Linked DNA regions of Homo sapiens: region 2 is linked to region 1. The links are contacts of gene promoters, found by promoter capture Hi-C in blood cells and fetal thymus (Javierre and others, 2016). All regions are on one chromosome and are shown on one strand. The core of a region is centred on a gene start or on the middle of the fragment in contact, and the rest is flanking DNA. Distances in the headings are between cores, read along the strand shown. Region 1 holds the start of SPATA21 (spermatogenesis associated 21). Region 2 overlaps FBXO42 (F-box protein 42).

The links. Contacts are between HindIII fragments. The CHiCAGO score rates a contact against its expected background, and 5 or more counts as called.
Region 2: a fragment that was not itself captured here is called in contact with the fragment with the promoter of SPATA21 in region 1 in 1 of 17 cell types (endothelial precursors); the score reaches 5.3 in endothelial precursors.

The regions. Positions count from the first base shown.
Region 1 is chr1:16,434,770-16,440,981 of GRCh38, forward strand. SPATA21 (spermatogenesis associated 21) reads right to left here and starts at 2,655. Exons shown (of 13, transcript NM_198546.1): 1 at 2,359-2,655. It overlaps NECAP2 (NECAP endocytosis associated 2), which reads left to right and starts at 5,955. Exons shown (of 8, transcript NM_018090.5): 1 at 5,955-6,084. The coding sequence starts at 5,993. RefSeq lists a silencer at 3,385-3,555. The HindIII fragment of the contact is 2,188 bases long and covers 2,319-4,506 here.
Region 2 is chr1:16,248,192-16,254,403 of GRCh38, forward strand. FBXO42 (F-box protein 42) reads right to left here. Exons shown (of 10, transcript NM_018994.3): 7 at 5,444-5,540; 8 at 4,905-4,961; 9 at 4,097-4,213; 10 at 1-3,594. The coding sequence ends at 2,479. Among named protein-coding and RNA genes, the nearest start is that of CPLANE2, 14 kb to the left of the region's middle. The HindIII fragment of the contact is 6,409 bases long and covers 1-6,187 here.

The DNA.
Region 1 (6,212 bases), core at 1,405-3,904:
TGTATCATTTTACCTTCTTACCAGCAGCATATGACTGCTCCAATTTTTCTGCATCCTCTCCAACACTTGTTATTATCTGTCTTATTTATTTATTTATTTATTTTTTGAGACAGGGTCTTCCTTTATCACCCAGGATGGAGTGCAGTGGTATGACCATAGCTCACTGCAACCTCCAACTCTGGGGTTCAAGGGATCCTCCCACCTTAGCCTCCTGAGTAGCTGAGACTACAAGTGCACACCACCACACCTGGCTAATTTTCAAATATTTTGTAGATGGGAATCTCACTATGTTGTCCAGGCTGGTCTTGAACTCCTCAGCTCAAGGGATCCTCCCGCCTCAGCCTCCCAGTGTTTTGGGATTACAGGTGTGAGCCACTGTACCGCCTTACTTGTCTTTTTTATCATAGCTATCCTAGTGGATGTGAGTGTAAAGTGTTATCTCATTCTGATTTTGATTTGCATTTCCCCAATGGCCGATAATGTTGGACATCTTCATGTGCTTATTGGCCATTTGTCTATCTTCTTTGGAAAAATGTTTATTCAGAGCCTTCGTCCTTTTTTTTTTGAGATGGAGTCTCGCTCTGTCACCCAGGGTGGAGTGCAGTGGCCTAGTTCCAGCTCACTGCAACCTCCGTCTCCCGTGTCCATGCAATTCTCCTGCTTCAGCCTCCCTAGTAGCTGGGATTACAGGTGTGTGCCACCACACCAGACTAATTTTTGTATTTTTAGTAGAGACGCGGTTTTGCCATCTTGACCAGGCTGGTCTCAAACCCCTGACCTCAGGTGATCTGCCCACCTCAGCCTTCCAAAGTACTGGGATTACAGGTGTGAGCCACCATGCCCGGCCCCCCCCTTTTTTTTTTTTCAGACAGGGTCTTACTCTGTCCACAGGCTGGACTGCAGTGGCATGAACGTGGCTCACTATAGCCTTGACCTCTTGGGCTCAGGTGATCCTCCCATTTCAGCCTCCCAAAATGCTGGGATTACATGCATGAGTCACAGCACCCAGCCTGCCTCTGTCCATTTATACTGGGTTGTCTTTTTATTATTGCACGGTAAATGTTCTTTATAAATTCTAGATACATGTCCTGAATCATATATATGATCTGCAAAAATTTTCTCCCATTATGTGGATTACATTTTCACCTTTTTGTCTTTTGAAGCACAGAAGTTTTAAATTTTTGTAAAAGTCCCATTTATCGGCCTGGTGCGGTGGCTCACACCTGTAATCCCAGCACTCTGGGAGGCTGAGGCGGGCGGATCATGAGGTCAGGAGTTTGAGACCAGCCTGGCCAGCAAGGTGAAACCCCATCTCTACTAAAGATACAAAAAATTAGCTGAGTGTGGTGGTGCGTGCCTGTAATCCCAGCACTTTGGGAGGCCGAGGCGGGCAGATCACCTGAGGTTGGGAGTTTGAGACCAGCCTGACCAACATGGAGAAACCCCGTCTCTACTAAAAGTACAGAATTAGCCGGGCATGGTGGCACATGCCTGTAATCCCAGCTAGTCAGGAGGCTGAGGCAGGAGAATTGCTTGAACCTGGCAGGTGGAGGGTTGCAGTGAGCCGAGATCGCACCATTGCACTCCAGCCTAGATGACAGGGTGAGACTCTGTCTCAAAAAAAAAAAAAAAAAATACAGATAGGGTGCAGTGTATACTGCTCAGGTGATGGGTGGACCAAAATCTTACAAATCACCACTAAAGAACCTACTCATGCAGGGCAAGGTGGCTCACGCCTGTAATCCCAGAACTTTGGGATGCCAAGGGGGGCAGATCACTCGAGGTCAGGAGTTTGAGATCACCCTGGCTAACATGGTGAAATCCTGTTTCTACTAAAAATACAAAAATTAGCTGGGCATGGTGGTGCCTGCCTGTAATCCTAGGTACTTGGGAGGCTGAGGCAGGAGAATCGCTTGAACCTGGGAGATGGAGGTTGCAGTGAGCAGAGACTGCACCACTACACGCCAGCCTGGGCAACAGAGCAAGACTCCGTCTCAAAAAAAATTACTAATGTAAACAAAAAAAAAACACCAAAAAACAAAAACCTTAGTCATGTAGCCAAATACCACCTGTACCCCAATAACCTATGGAAAAACAAATAAATAAATAAATAAATAAAAAGTTTTGAAATCAGGAAGTGTGAGTCCTCCAACTTTGTTCTTTTTCAAAATTCTTTGGGTATTGAGTGCCCCTTTTATAAGTGGTTTCCTCATCTGAAAAATGGGAGAATTTCTCTTGGAAATATCTATGATGGCAGGAAAATACAGCAGATAAAGATAAGTGGCATATCATATATATGTCTGGAGGCCGTCAGGGAAAGCTTGTTCACCTTACACCCCACCTTGGCCCTGCACCTACCAGAAATCAGCTGGATGAGTCACAGTGAGATTTTCCACCCCTGCTCACCGCCTTGCACATAGGATGGGCTCTGTCTGAGCCTATACTTTGCCTGTTGGCTTGAATTGGATTTGTTTGGTATACAGGGCAGTTAAACTGGGAATAGATGGCAGGTCCAATTATTCTCAGCAGCAGAGGTTTAGGAATGCATTTCAGGAATATCCAGCCATGTGGTTAGGGTTTGAGAATAAGGCAAGGGGCTGTGTGACCTCCAACTACTGGACAGTGTCATTTCCCCCAGCTTGTCACTGGTTCAGTGGCCCCCATTACACAATGAAGATAACAATCGTTGCCTTGCCAACCTCACAGTGATTATTGGGCCAGGGTACTCTCTCCCAGAAAGCCTTCCCTGACTCTCCCCAGACTGTGTGGGGTTTCTTCTCTTTGCTCCCACAGGCCCCTGTGAATTTGCTTCATTACAGTACCTTTCATTCTGCTTTGCCAATGACTGCTTTTCTCTCTGTCTCCTCCAGTCTGCGAGCTCCAGGATGGTAGGAGCTGGATTGGCCACATCCCAGTGACCCCAGTACTCAGCACCTGGCATAGGGTATGTGCTCGATGCCTGTCTTTGTTAGACTGAACAGAACTGAAAGTGCTCTGAATGGCTGGGTGCGGTGGCTCACACCTGTAATCCCAGCACTTTGGGAGGCCGAGGTGGGTGGATCACTTGAGGTCGAGTTATAGACCAGCCTGGCCAACATGGTGAAACCCCGTCTCTACTAAAAATACAAAAATTAGCCAGGCATGGTGGCGCATGCCTGTAATCCCAGCTACTTAGGAGGCTGAGGCACGAGAATCACTTGAACCTGGGAGGCAGAAGTTGCAGTGAGCTGAGATCATGCCACTGTCTTCCAGCCTGGGTGGTAGAGTGAGACTTAGTCTCAAAAAAAAAAAAATTGGAAAATAAGGCCAGGTATGGTGGCTCATGCCTATAATCCTAGCACTTTGGAAGGCTGAGGCAGGAGGATCTCTTGAAGACAGGAATTCAAGACCAGCCTGGGCAACATAGCAAGACCCCCGTCTCTACAAAAAGTAAGAAAAATAGCAGGGTAGGGTGGTGTGTGCCTGTAGGCCCAGCTACTCAAAAGGTTGAGGCAGGAGGATCCCTTGAGCCCGGGAATTTGAGGCTGCAGTGAGTGATGATCGCACCATTGCACTCCAGTGTGGGGTGACAGAGAGAGAAAGAAAGAGAGAGACCCTGTCTAAAAAAAAAAAAAAAAAGAAAAGAAAAAGAAAAGAAAAGAAAAGAAAAATAACCAATATTTGCAAAAATGTGAAGAAATTGAAACCCTTGTGAACGTAAATGGTGCTGCTGCTGTGGAAGACAGTTTGGAGGCTCCTCAAAAAGGTGAGCAAGGCCGGACATGGTGGTTCACACCTGTAGTCCCAGCTACTTGGGAGGCTGAGTTGGGAGGATCACTTGAGCCTGGGAGGTTGAGGCTGCAGTGAGCCATGATCATGCCAGTGCTTTCCAGCCTGGGCAACAGAGTGAGATGCTGTTTCAAACAAAACAAAACAAAACAAAACCACTAAACATAGCATTATTGTATAACTCAGCAGTTTCACTCCTATGTATACACTCAAGAAAATGGAAAACAGGACTAGAACAAGTGTTTGAACACCAATGCTCATAGTAGCCCGATTCCCAATACCAAAAGGTGATAACATCCCAATTGTTGACAGATGAATGGATAAACAAAATATGGTATATACATGCAATGGAATATTATCCCTCCATTAAAAGGAATGAAATTCTGATCCATGCTACATGAAAGAACCTTGAAAACTTGATGCTAAGTGAAATAAGAAACACAAAAGCCCAATATTGTATGATTCCACTTATAAGAGGTATCTAGAAAAGGCAAATTCATAGAGACAGAAAGTAAAACAGAGGTTACTAAGGGATGGAGCAGAAGGAAATGGGAAGTTATTGCTAATGGGTGTGGAGTTTCTGTTTGGGATGATGAAAAGTTCTGGAAAGCATGATATAGTTGCACAATATTGTGAATGTACTTAATTTCACAGCATTGTACACTTAAAATGGTAAATTTTATGTTATGTATATTTTACAATAAAAATGTAAGTGGTTAGATCAATCCTATAATAAAAAGCTTATAAAAAATGAGTAGAAATGGCCAGTCGTGGTGGCTCACGCCTGTAATCCCAGCACTTGGGAGGCCGAAGTGGGCGGATCACTTGAGGTCAGGAGTTCAAGATCAGCTTGGCCAACCAGATGAAACCCCCGTCTCTACCAAAAAAATACAAAAACTAGCCAGGCTTGGTGGTGGGTGCCTGTAATCCCAGCTACTCGGGAGGCTGAGGCAGGAGAATCGCTTGAACCCGGGAGGTGGAGGTTGCAGTGAGCCGAGATTGCACCACTGCACTCCAGCCTGGGCGGCAGAGTGAGACTTTGTCTGAAGAAAAAAAAAAAAAAAAGTAAAAAGGAGAAGGAGAGTGAGAGAGAAAAGGAAAGAAGGGGTGGGGAAAGTTTGGGGTATTCAGTGAATCAGAAGTTTGGGATCAGCTTCACCCCCACATAGGGGCTGGCACATTGCAGGCACTCAACTCAATGAGAGAATGGTAGGGAAGGAGGGATTTTGAGAATTTGGCTAGGGTAGACATTGTATCTCCCAGAATATTCTGGGAGAAATCGAAGTTAAGACTGGAATTCTTCTTCTTCTTTTTTTTTTTTTTTGAGACAGAGTCCCGCTCTGTCACCCAGGCTGAGGTGCAGTGGCACAATTTCAGCTCACTGCAACTTCCGCATTCCGGGTTCAAGCGATTCTAGTGCCTCAGTCTCCCAACTAGCTAGGACTACAGACACACGCCACCAAGCCCGGCTAATTTTTGTATTTTTAGTAGAGACGGGGTTTCACCATGTTGGCCAGGCTGGTCTCGAACTCCTGACCTCAGGTGATCCGCCCGCCTCAGCCTCCCAAAGTGCTGGGATTACAGGCGTGAGCTACCAAGCCCGGCCTGGAATTCTTCTTAAATTACTTGTGTTACTAAACTTTACTTCTTTGAATACAACTCGTTGTTGAGGTTTGGCCACACGGGGCCCTGAGCATATAAGTGGGTTCCCCTAGGGGAAGCATGGAGGGTGGTAGGGTAATGGCATCTATTTAGTCTGGTGGGTCAGGTGCCAGCTGAGCCTTACAGTCAGGAGAGGGAAGGATATTCAGGCAGAGGAGGCGCCGAGGCAAAGGCTGGAGGACAGAGATACTGCAGGGTGGGCTACAGCTTTGCCTCTCGGTCAACTGGGCCCCAGGCCTAAGAAACTGAAGCGATGGGGATGATCCACACCCAGACCACGGGTTACAGAGGGGTCTGTCCATGGCGGGCGCAGGGCGCTTTCTTTGCGTCGGAGGGTGTCTGGAGGGAAGGAGAAGCCTCTGGAGGGAGGGAGAAGCCTCCGGAGGTCGCCCGCCACGTGTCTTGAGCCGGGTTTCCAGCAGAGGGCGCACAAACGAGGCGGTGCTGAGGCCCGCGAGCTGCCGCTCTAGCCGAAACCTGGTCAGAGAGTCGCACCGCTTCCGTCCGTCGGACAGAGGAACGGTGGAAGTCGCCGGAAGTTCGGTGGGCTCCAGGCGTCGCGATGGAGGAGAGCGGGTACGAGTCGGTGCTCTGTGTCAAGCCTGACGTCCACGTCTACCGCATCCCTCCGCGGGCTACCAACCGTGGCTACAGGTGACTACCCACCGCCAGACCAGGCTAGCTCCAATTTAACCCTTTCTCCGCCACCCGGACACACCCACTGCGGGAACCGAGGACAGCCCTGGCCAGTTTTGGGGCGAGGGGGAGCTAATGCTGCTGCT
Region 2 (6,212 bases), core at 1,733-4,232, 190 kb before region 1:
CACAGGTGGCTTCAGGAGGCCTGAGGAGACAATCACCTTCACTGTGTTGAATCACTTTCCCATGGTACACGCCCACAGTGCCCAGGAGCTACCAAGACCAACCATAATGGGGGCAGACAAGGCAGATTTTTCTTAAAAAGCTGTAAGCAAACAGTCTGGTTCCAGGCAGTATGCGTCAAACTGGAATTCAATGGAGTTCAGAGGAACCAGATTACTTTCTAAGACAATCAACATATCTGTTGCCTGCCTACTTGGGGGAAGTGGAAGGAATCAACACGTTAACAGCTGGCTTAGGAAGGCCACAGGACTAAGGGAAAGACTGTAAGGTTGAGATTCTGTACTTTCAGGTTTCTAATATACTTTATATTTAGATAGGAACTACTGAGTTTGGAGGCACAGTCCATGCACAAACACAATGTCCTAACACAAGGTACAGCAATAGCGGTAACACCTGAATTGCTAGCCTTCTGGCCCAGCTTTCCCTTGTAAATAAGGACCCCACATGATCGAACAGTCTTTGCCAAGCAAGGATTGGCAACAGCACCAGAGCCTGAGTCGCGAAAGGGAAGTGTGGAGCTCCAAGCAGTTGGATGCCACATAAGTAGACACATGTTGTTTCCTCATTGAAGGGAACACAAAGAGCAGTTTCTGGAACACATACCCCTCCCCACAAGCTAGGCTTGGCACCAGGGTGGCTTTCCTACGAAGACCACATCATAAAAGCTAATGGCTAAGGGAAAGGATTCAGCATGATGTAACAGGAGAAAACACACTTATCAGTACACTTAGGCTGCCAGATGCTGGCTGAAAGCCAGGACCCAGGGCCAGCTGCAGCAGGCTTTGTGCCTGAGAAACGCTAATAATAAAAAGAGGAGTGTCAGGGTGGCAAGGTGATGTTTTGAAATTAGGATTTAAATTTCAAAACAAAACAAAGGCAAAACAAAAATCCTCTTTCCACTGATGAGAAATCACCAAAAATCCCTATTTAAATGGTGCCATTTGAAATAAACTTATTTTGACATCTCCTATGCCCAGGCCATGGTTGAGACTAGTAACTTTCTGTATCAAGCAAAGAAATGCTCTACTTGGTTACACCTTAATCTCAGAAATGAAGTGAAAGTAAAAACCCAAGCCCTATTTGGGTGACACATGAAGAAGACAAGTGCAAAGGATGGAGCTGTTTCTGAGGTCAGCCATGCGTCAAGAAGTCAAGTACATGATTCTCAACTCCATCACCTGCCAATAGCCAGGAAGAGGAATATATGTCACCACAAGGAAAAAAACATTTCTAAAAAGAACTGTTATTGGAATTCCCTTCCAGAATCAATTTCCACATTCTACAAATATGGGATGAGTGTGCTCAATGTGCTTTGGAAGTAAAAAGAAGCCCATAGGGAAAAAACAGTATCTTTTGATGCTTGCTTCAAAGATTTCTCACAATATTGGCATCTTAGAATTCCCTACTGGCCCCCTAGTGACACCAGGGAAAGGGTTCCACAAGTATTTCTAAGCAGCTTCTGATTTCTGTAGGCACCTGAGCTTTGTAAAAGAAACAGAAAGTCAGACAGGTTTTAGGACTTCACCACATATGAAAAAAAAAAAAGAAAAGAAAAAAGGTAGAAGAAAAAAGCAGCCTGTAAGTGAATGGAAAAGGCAGTTTCCAAGTACCATGTTCTAAGGGAAGAAAGAGGAGAATAAATATGTTTTTTGGCAACTTGCCACCAAATATGATTGATTGTCAGAAATTTCCACAATCAGACACAAAATGTTTTCTGAGACACACAAGAAGCACTCCAAAGACCAATGGACACTACTAGGCGGTCAGATGTTGGCTGCATAAACATTATTTCACAATGACCCGGCACACAAATGTGGAATAAAATCCTTTGTTGGGTAACTTTCCTCAGCCATAAAAGGCAAGAGGGGGCCAGGCACTGGCATTTCTGCAGAGCTGTCACAGGTCCTCTGTGGTTTTAAGAGAAGGGGAAAAACAGTTACTTTTACCCCGACAGCACCTGAAGCATGAGAGTCTAAAACCCTCCACCTTTGCAACTTACATATGCCCTTTCATTTTTTAACTCCAAGAAGGCCACATAAAGATTTACAGGGGGCTCTTCAGTTTCTTTTGGGAAGTTACTGATGTTAGTCTATTCTCTAACTTCTTGGTCTAGTTACCAGCAAGGTAGAAAAAGGCAGCCCAGCCCCTGTTAAAACACAGCAACAACTTTATCTGAACCAGGATGGAAATCTCTCCCTTTTTTTGTCAACAGAGTTGGCTATATAATATATATATATATATTTATATATAATTTTTTTTCTTAATGGAGATTTGATCCCAGCCTGGAGTGACTTCGGTTGGGAATTAAAGAGTTTTGGCTTCTGGGAGTAATTTTGTTTTCCCAATTCTCAGTCCAAATGCTTACACACTGGAAAATTCCAAATTAAAAGCCACAGAAAAGGAAAGGGGTTTAGAACACATTATCTCTTTGCTCGTACAAAGTACAAGGCGTTTGTTTTTGGATAGTACTTCACATTCTGTTTCTTGTCCATGAGTCCTCCAAATATGATGAGTTCACCCCTGCCTTGTACCACGGTATGCAGGCTGGTTTCAGGAGGTCCAACCACAGAACTGCTATTAAATACTTTCCATTTGACCCGCCCCTTCTCCTTGGTGTCTTTAATGTCCAGCACGTACATCTGCATGGGCTTGCAGTTCATACTCTGGTATAGGGGTTTGCCAACATTTAGGGACTGTGGAGGGTGGTGGCCCAGGCGGCGAGCAATGGGAGGTAAGGAATGTCCATCTCCTTGGGCAGGCCCTGGGCGAGGGATGGGCACTGTTTCTCCACTGCTCAAACTCTGGCTCCCAGGAGAGCCTGGAGAAGACCCAAGAGGAGGACTTAGTGCTGCAGAGGCCGAGGGGCCTTTGGAGGACATCGCTTTGATGGCTTCCAGACTCCGACGCAGGGCACCTGGGGAGACGGCCCCTGCAAGGGCACTGGCCACGTGAGGTGGGGTATGCACACCATTTGTCTGTTCAGGAGGGTGTCTCATACTTCCCCCAACTGTCCTATTGTCCATGCCATCCATGGGATTACTACTGGAAGCGGGTTTCAGATCCCAATTCAGATCTATGGATCCTAATCTCAGATCTTTCTGATCTGGTAGTGATCCTCGTCGGGGGGCCAAAGAAAGTCCTATTTTCAGGTCGTATCCTTCAGGAGCAGATGGAGTACTTGGAGATATGGCCTGTACAGGACTGTCCAAAGAAGAGCCACCCACAGCTGCCGTTCCTGGAGACAAACTCCCACCATTGAGGATAGGAGAGCCGTCTCCTCTGGCTGGGGAAAGGCTCCCTTCCCGGGAACCTGAAGGAGTCTGCCTTTGAGCCCTGGGTCTCAGTGTTCCCCAGCGGCCGTTAACACAAGGAGCTTCATCCATGCTTCTTACTGGAGACTGAGAGCGGTACTCTCGGGTTTCAGGAACGAGAGCTGGAGGAGTGGCACTGATAGGTGATGGGCGAGAGTTCAAACTGGGGCTGAGTGGGGCTCTCCCACTAGGAGCCTGGCTGAAGACCACCACACACTGTCCCACCTGGAAGACAAAGGACCAGTGCTCACACTCTTCTATGATTCTGATTGTTCATTCAACTGTCAAACATTTTATCATGAGCATCTGTCATGTGCCAGACATTTTGTAGGTACCTGAGATATGAAGATGAAAATGATGTAGTCTGCCCTCTAGGCTAGAAGTCAGACATGGGAACAATCGCTGCTTTGTGTGACATATGCTATCATTAGAGATATGTATACAGAAGGGGTGGGGAGAAGGGAACAATCAATTTTTGTTAGAAGGAGAAGGGAAAGTTTCACAGACAAACAGATGCTTAAAGTTGGGACTTACTGAATGAGTAGGGCCCCTGTAAGTTTTCCCATTTAGTGAGAAATGCCAAAGGAGCTATGGCTAATGTTCACCTCTTTTGTGACACCAAGGTGTTTTCTATTTTTGTACAAATTTCTTTGTAACCTGACAAAGTAATGTGGTTTTCCACAATTTAGGACCTGTCCTCCTGCTAGCCTGTCAGCTCCCTGCTTACCCGGCAAGCTGGATGGCACCACAGTTCTGGGGCCCCATGCTCTTCATTTTCTACCTTGAGTGGCTGCCAGGCCCAAGGACCAGAATGCATGTGCAACAACCAAGCATCCTTGAATAGCTGTAAGAGAAAAAACCAATAACAAGACTCAGGTGTGATATGCGTTCCAAAACACACACACACAGAGTTGCAGTCTCAAAGCTCTCCTGTCTGGTCTTGAAAGGATGTGGACTCTTCAGAAGGATAGCAAAATCCTCAGTTAATTATTCAGTTGTGCATGCATCCACTTACGCTTTCATTCATTCATATATTACCACTGGCTTAGCACATGGAATTGTGCTTGTGACCCATGAATCAACTGAGTGGTTTTGACACTTGCCCATAATTTTATGTGTATGTATTGGGGATTGAAGGAGAGGATAAATAATACATATCCACAACTTTCTGAATCTGCTTTCTTAAATACTGTGTGAACTCTGACAGTTATCAACCTGCTTTTTTGTTCCACTGCCCTCTCCCCTTTGAAAATATGATAGCAGTAAACTTTATAGCCTAAAAAGGAAATAGGAATGGGAAGAATATAGATATGAATATTCAAGAGACAAATATCTATGATTAAAAGGATCCCCCCACAACCCTAAAAAAAAGCAGAAACAAAGGCCAGAAAATACAAAGGCTATACCCAAAAAGCATTCCTTAAATTAAAATGCCATGGAAATAGTCTTGTATACTCCTAGAAAAGAAGACAGGGGAAACAGGTTTTGAACACTTAGTAGCATGCACATGGGAATGCCACAGAAGCAATACTCACAGCATTGGGACCGCCACACCCTCCGAGGATTAAGATAGTTGCATCATCTATGACAATCTGAGGAGGGGAAGACATTGAAAATAAACCTACAAAGACACAGGTTTCTGACTTTCTATGCTTCACTGGTATATGAGAATAGCCTACCTAGCTCCCAAATGGGAATATTCTAGTTACCATAACCTCTCCATTCTCCTAAAAACATATCAATTCTGATCCCTGTGAATAAATTACTGATAATTCACCTGAAAGGATACATTCTTTGTTGATCAAATATTAACATGAATGTCAACCACATAAAATGCAGGATTCTCTTGAGAAATGACACAGCAAAGTAAATGCTTTGGGGAGGAGCATAATATAAAACCACTATAAATAATATGACCCATTAGAAGTTGAAAAATAAATACCAGTAAAAAAGAATGATACATTTTCTTTGGCTTAGTGCATATTGGCATCTTACCTGACTCCCTCCTCCCTCTCCCGTCCTAACTGAAAGACGCTACAGTGTTTGCTGAATAGTTATTTTAATTCCTGAGCACCTGAGATTGGCCACCTCGAGGATGAGGACTGGGGCCAGAGATGTTCGGCTTGGACCACGCCCACTGCTCAAGGTCAAGGACCCAGACATCATTGCTCCTGTGAATTAAGGACAGAAGGATAAAGGTAGTTAGGAGCTCCCAGGGACCATAATGGTGGCTGGGGAGTTCCACATGCCTGTGGCCCATCTGGCAAACTTGCACCATTTTCACTTTCACAGACTGTGTGGGCTGGAGCAGGTTTTAGAGATGCCCTACTCAGAGTTCAGGGGCTTCTGAACCAGAAAGAGACCATGTTGCTGAATCCCAGCTCTGTAGCCTGAACAAGTCACTTAATTTTCTCTAACTCTGACTTTATCTCTAAAATGAAAATACTGTTACTACTGTCTGAGGAGCTGATATAAAATGAAGGGACCTTTATAAAGATGCGCAGCAAAGTGTTATGCTCCTACTTAGCACTTAGGCTGTATCTTTCTTCCCCTACTTTCCCTAGAAGTCATCCTGAGACCCTCCCTCTGCTCTTTCCACGAGGCCTCATCTGAGCCACGTCTGCGGCCAGACACTAGTGCCTAATGAGATTATTTTTTTAACCATCTATTAACTGAAGTAAAAGCAGATGATTAAAAAATAGTTAATTGGTGACAGCAGGAAATAGACACTGGTTAAGCTACAGTTTTCAAAAGCAAAAACCACAAAGAAGAGAAAAAACGATTCAAAAGGCAGCTTCATCATTGTCCAGGAGTTAAAAGCTTTATCGATTCTGGCTACAAAA